Regions from separate parts of the Homo sapiens genome. Here region 1 is linked to region 2. Evidence: promoter capture Hi-C in human tissues and cell types (Jung and others, 2019). All regions are on one chromosome and are shown on one strand. The core of a region is centred on a gene start or on the middle of the fragment in contact, and the rest is flanking DNA. Distances in the headings are between cores, read along the strand shown.

Region 1 (3,161 bases), core at 414-2,913, 150 kb after region 2:
TATTTAAGGAATTGAGACATAGAGAGCTTTAAAAACTTGTTCAGGGTGACAGAGATTGTAAGAGACAGCTAGATTTTGAACTCTGGCTAACTGCAGAGTCTACCTGACTAGCTTTTCCTCACTTTCTATTATCATTAGAAAGTAGAGTTATAGATAAAGCCATCAAATTTTAACAGTTACTATAATTTTGCACTTTTGTTTATTTCTGTATTGCTTGCCCAAACACTTTGCACTGTTTCATGTACATAGTATCACTTAATGAAGGTTAGATGATAATTAAAAGGAAAAAATAATTTGTTTCCATCTGCCTCTACTGAGTGCTGTTAGAATAAAAGAATGGAAAAACAATAATTTACAGCGTAAAGGGAGTCCCATAATTCTTATACTGACATAGGGAAAGACCCCTTTCTTATAATACCCAACTTCCTGTACCAAGAAACCGAACAAGACAAAGTTCAAAATATGTATAAACAATCCTTGCAAAAGATTACACTCTAATAAGCTTTGCACCATGCACAAGCTAATAACTGACCACGACCCCAAAGCCTCTTACATTTGTTTCCGGTTTGCTTTAGAGCAAGAGTCAGAGAACAACAGCCTGCAGGCCAAATCCCACCTGCTACCTGATTTCGATTTTGCCACCTTGTCAGCCAAGAATGGTTTTGACAATTTTTAAATGGTTGGAAAAAACACCCCAAAAGAATATTTTGTGACACATGAAAATCATATGGAATTCAAATTTCAGTGTCCATAAGTGTTACTGGCACACAAGCACATCCATTTGTTTATGGATTGCCTATGGCTGTTTTTCTAGCTACAACAGCAGAATTGAGTAGCTGTAACAGAAACTATATAACCTGCAAAGGCTAAAATATTTCCTACCTGGCCCTTTTCAGAAAAAGTTTGCCAACTGCTGCTAGAGTGATTCTCAACCTTAGCCTTGTTGGAAGCATTTGGAAGAGATCTTAAAACTTCTGACCCCCAAGCCCTGTCCGGCACCAATTAATTCAGAATCTCTGGAGCTGAGACCCAGTCTTCAGAACTTCGTAAAATTCTTGGTGGTGTAGTCCAATGTGCAGCCAAGGCTGAGAACCACTGCCTAGAGTGTTGAATGCATTTTAGGGGCAAATAGATTAGATCTTGCTGCCTCCAGGATGACCTTGCTGCCTCCAGATAAGAGAGAGAATGCAGGCCACTCTCTCACTGCTTGTGTGTGCAAAGGGTGATGTAAGCAAAGATGTTCAGGACCTCCATGTGCCCTCTGGTAAAAGCCCTTCTTCTTCTTCTTTTTTTCTTTTTTTTTTTTTGAGTTGGAATCTCACTCTGTAGCCCAGGCAGGAGTGCAGTAGCACGATCTCAGCTTACTGCAACCTCCACCTCCCAGGTTCAAGAGATTCTCCTGCCTCAGCCTCCCAAGTAGCTAGGACTACAGGTGCCCACCACCACTTCCGGCTACTTTTGTATTTTTAGTAGAGATGGGGTTTCACTATGTTGGCCAGGCTGGTCTTGAACTCCTGACCTCAGGTCATCCTCCCACCTAGCCCTTCCAAAGTGCTGGGATTACAGGTGTGAGCCACTGCGCCCAGCCATAAAGCCCTTCTTCTTTAGGAGATGAGAATGGGGGAGGCAGAGAGGAGAAGAGAGGATTATACCAAATATCTATCCCAGAATATAGAGTGACTACATTGAAAACAAAATTCCCCAGAACGGAATATCATCAAACGTATAGACAGTGTAACCTTCCCTAGCCTAGCCTCTAGGAAGAGGTGACCTCATTCCTTAACACGCACTAACACAACCATCTGGTCTAAGCTATAGAGCACAGAACCTGTTACTCAATGCAACGAGTCCAAGTAGGTTTAATCAGCTGTGTGGTTCATGAACTCTGTGTCAGAATCACTTGGAAGGTTTGTTAAGCTGTAGATTCCTAGGCCTCACCTCAGAATCAAAACCTCTAGGAACAGTCCTAGAAATCTGTATTTTAACCAGCACCCAGTTGATTCTTAAGAACTTTACAGTTTGATCACCACTTACCTAAATGGTGTACTCTCTGTGGATGTGCAAGCTGAAGTTGTCCTACTATTATTTGTCAAGGTGGATTAACTTGGTAGGCCAGTTGTTCGTTCCTTCCAGAGGTGCACACACATTTAAAAAAATGGAATTCCCAAAAAAATTTACAACATATTTGCCAAATAGCCTTTAAAAGAACCAGAGTTATTTAAAAAAAAAAACAGTGGTAGAAGTAATATATTCATTACACCAATTGCTGTCTTGCTCAGTAATATAGACACCTGTATGACAAACTGTTTTACTGTTTGTTTATTTATTTATTCATTTATTTATTTATTGAGACGGAGGGTTGCTCTGTCACCCAGGTTGTAGTGCAATGGCACAATCTTGGCTCACTGCAACCTCCACCTCCCGGTTCAAGCAATTCTCCTGCCTCAGCCTCCCTAATAGCTGGGATTACAGATGTGCACCACCATGCCCAGCTAATTTTTGTATTTTTACTAGAGATGGGGTTTCACGATGTTGGCCAGGCTGGTCTCAAACTCTTGACCTCAAGTGATCCGCCTACCTTGGCCTCCCAAAGTACAAAGATTACAGGTGTGAGCCACCACACCTGGCCAAACTGTTTTAAATATCTTTAAAATTCCAAGTATTCTCTGAAGAATTTTTGGAAGTAGATATACATTGCTTAGAGTGAGCTTGAGTGAATAAAGTGGGTGACTAAGTAAGACCTGTTTTCGGTTTTTTTTTTTTTTTTTTCTAAATGAGCTTTGGCTTTTAAGTGACCACATTATGCATCAGTGCACTCTTTAACTCCAAAAGACACACCTTCATAATATTTTGAATATTTTGTCAAAAACAAAGTTGTTTTAAAGAAGCCCAGTTTACCCTAAAGGAGAACAATCTTTTGAATTTATAAATTCCCATGTATTTTATATGAAACCAACTCTATTTCTTATTGTCATTTCTTTAACCACTTATAAAGCCTATAAGCCATCAGTTTGTGGGTGTAGGTGTTTGAATTTTGAGATACATGATTGTATTACAGGAAATCTCTGTGGGGACAGGAAAAAACCAGCACTTAATGTCCGTTAACTAGTGAGAGTTATAGGGGAGATGTGATACTCCAGACAAGAGGGTCCTTCACTTCA
Region 2 (3,435 bases), core at 836-3,335:
AAGAAAAGCAAAAGTACTATAGTATTTTTATGAGTGCATTGCTATTATCTTTTTACTCAGATGAGGGTATATTATGGCTATAGACCACCAGTAGGAAGACAATCTGAAAATTCAGTTATTTTGTCTTTCAATTGTGAAGGAGGACGGTCATCTGTTAGTTTACATAACTACTCCTTATAAATAACTTAGTTTTTCTGAGCAACCAACCCTAAATTCATTCAGCATTCACTGAATCCCAGCTAGGTGTGTGATAGGCACCAGGGACCTAACATTACGTTAATTGCACATATATTTACAAATGTTACATAAATTTGCAGTTCAAATACACATGCATTGATATTAAATTTGAGGTGGCAGAAAATTTACTAAAATTAAATAAATATATTTAAATGTAAATATAAATGTGTAAATATAAATGTTTCTCCTTTCAAGATGTTTCTATTGCCAGCCTTGATATAAGTCTTGCTGACACAATATAGCTCCTTTCAGCAGGCCAATATATAATACAGGTTGAATGTCCCTTATTTTGACATACTTGAAACCATAAGTGTTTCAGATTTTGGATTTTGGAAGATTTGCATTATACTTACTGGTTGAGCATCTCTAAACTGGAAGTCCAAAATCTGAAATGTTCCAGCGAACATTATCCTTAAATGTCATGTCTGTGCTCAGAAAGTTTCTAATTTTGGAACATTTGGGATTCAAGAGGGTTTGGAATTTCATAGTTTCCATTAGAGATACCCAACCTGTATCAACATAAGTACAGCAAGGGGCCTTCACATAACAAGCCTCATATTGGAGTCTAATAACCAGACTAATAACCTAGACTAACTGAAAAGGCAATTAGTCTTTACTGATATCTCCTGAAGCATGACAAAGCAAATTTCTTAAAATCTCTTTCCCATTCCTAGCTGTGGATCTCCACACCAGTGCCCCAAACAGCAGCCACCTCAACTCTACCTTCACTTAAGTGTAATTTAGCTTATACAGTTGTCCCTAAGTATCCCAGGGGGGATATTGGCTCCAGGATCCCTGCTGATACCAAAATCCATGAGTGCTAAAGATCCTTATATAAAATGGTGTAGTATTTGCATACAATCCATGCATATCCTCCGATATACTTTAAATCATCTCTAGATTACTTATAATACCTAATACAATGTAAATGCTGTATAAGCAGTTGTTAAACTGTATTACTTGTATTTTATTGTTGTACTTGATATTTCTTTTTTCCTCAAAATATTTCTATCCGCAGTTGGTTGAATCTTCACAGAGGGTGTGGGTGTTGGAGGGTGTGTCTGAGGAGATGCCCAGAAGAAATTTGCCATGCTAACGGTAGTGCCCAGTTTCAAGACAGTCTCTGCCCTTAAGGAGCTAAGGATCTGAAGATAAAATAATTACCCGTTGGGTGGTGTTATACAGATCCTGCATAAAATTAGGATTTCTGAGATGGGCGAGGTCAGCCTGGATGTGAGCCTAGAAGTGGGCATGAACCTGGATAATGAATTAACTCTCAATAAATATTTGTGGGGAGCTTCCTAGCGGGCCTCTTCCAGTCATTCTGTGTATGCGTTTTACATATGCATTTTTCTAGGGCAAGACTCCATTATTTTCAGAATATTCTCATTCCTTTATAGTCATGACTCCCTTTATTTGCGTAACATAAGGAAGGAGCAGATGTACGGTGGGCAGATGAAAGCTTTTCCAACATCACTAAGAGGTGGTTTCAGATCCTGAAGAGGTCTTTGAAGTCCCGGGAGACCTGGGTCCCAAGTGGTCTGACACTTCTCGTTTAACAGTCGCAGGGGTGGCGTGTGGTTCGGGGCACCTGCTCCTGGGCGCCTCCACCTGGCCTTAGCCTCCAGGCCAGGCCGGGTTCCTCCTACCCTTGCTGAGGCCATTTGCTGTCACTCCGCCCACTGCCCCTCTCTGCCTCCTCCCCACTCCTTTTCCTTCCGTGCGCCTCCATTTCTAACTACGCCTCCAGCCCATTCGGGCCCTCCTCGGCTTCCGTCCCAGATGATCCCTCCCCGAAGCTGCCACCGCCTCCTCCATCTCCCGGAGCTGGAGCCGCCTCCTCGGCCAGTGGCGTAGCCGAATCGGTGTCGCGGCCAGCCAGATAGGGGCGGAGGTCCGGAACCCAGTCTGGACCCGAGCGGGGGGCCATGGAGAAAGCGGCCCGAGGCGCTGTTTACACCGACTAGCGCGGGCCCGTTGCGGCTGCAGGCACCATGGACCGAGCCCCCACGGAGCAGGTACGCGGGTTTGGGCTGGGCCCGCCGAGCCGGGGGTTGGGGTCGCCGCTTCCTCACAGGCCAGGCCCAGTTCTCCGAACGTGGGGACCGGGGGCCGGTCCTGCGGCCGCAGACCCCCTCACCTGGGAGCCTGGCAGCTCCCAGCTCTCCTTCATTGTTCCAGCTGCTGCCTGGGACTTGGGGGCTTTTCCAACCCTGATTACTTCCCAGGCGGAGGGCTCGCCGTTGCCGCTTCTCCCCTGCTTGGTGAAGGGGTCAGAAGGCTCCAAGTTGTCCCTGCTCTCCTGGGAGGAGGGCTTATAACTTCTAGTAGTCTCCCCGCTTCCCCCATTCCCTTCAGCTCTGGAATGTGTTTTCAAGGTGGAAAGGCGTTTGAAGGCTTCTCACCCAGAAAGACTGTAAGAGAATGTGTGGTAACTACAGATGAAGGGAAGTCACGGGCCTTTTAGGTCTGTGTTCAATGGAGCGAAGCATTGTTTTTGCAGTGGTTTTACGGAGGTGTTTCTTTTAAGAAACGATACTACGATTTCCCCTTGTCCTTTTATCCAGTTATTTTGCAAAGAATTGTAATTAGTGGGTTTTTTTTTAAAGCTAGCTCTATTTTAAGGGTGTAAAGCATAAGCTTATTTTCGAACCCGTTTTCATATTCGCAAAGTAGTCCTATTAGTGTTCTGTTTTATTTTTATTTGCATCAAATTCCTGATTATGCATGCTAGTAGGTGGTAGCAGGCAGGGATGATAACAGTGTTAAAAGTAATCGAAAACAATAGTTTCCCCCCCAGTATTTTCCACTCTTAAGATCTCTGCGAAACGACTTAATTTGAAGTCCAAGTTTATTCACTCTCTATTCCCTTCTTCGAAGGCCTTGCCCATTGATGACTAGATGACGGAAGAAGAGAGGCTAGTAATTTCTGCCTATTAATTTTACAGTTGGATAATTAGCACCTGAATTAATGAGATAAGATTTCCCAAATTCCTGTATGTGTCTATATGTAGTTGAAGCCGGTTTGTATTTTGAAATCGGACTCTTAGCAGGCAAAGCACAGCTTCCTAGTTGTGTATACTTGTTTTTACAGAAGACTTTTTTTTTTAAAAAAAAGCTTTATGTGAATGTAACTCTGAAGACACAAATGAGTTTTATAAAACAATACATGGAATTACCAAAGAGAAATTGATACAG

Evidence for each region. The method cuts DNA at HindIII sites, captures the fragments that hold promoters and counts their contacts. A contact is called where the count stands out against the background at its distance.
Region 1: a fragment that was not itself captured here is called in contact with the fragment with the promoter of SECISBP2L in region 2 in 1 of the 25 tissues and cell types used here (hippocampus).

The regions. Positions count from the first base shown.
Region 1 is chr15:48,898,653-48,901,813 of GRCh38, reverse strand. All of the region lies in intron 2 of SHC4 (SHC adaptor protein 4), which reads left to right. Among named protein-coding and RNA genes, the nearest start is that of EID1, 22 kb to the right of the region's middle. The HindIII fragment of the contact is 7,421 bases long and covers 1-3,161 here.
Region 2 is chr15:49,045,096-49,048,530 of GRCh38, reverse strand. SECISBP2L (SECIS binding protein 2 like) reads left to right here and starts at 2,085. Exons shown (of 18, transcript NM_001193489.2): 1 at 2,085-2,255. The coding sequence starts at 2,232. RefSeq lists enhancers at 1,619-1,748, 1,849-2,198, 2,489-2,628. The HindIII fragment of the contact is 5,737 bases long and covers 1-3,116 here.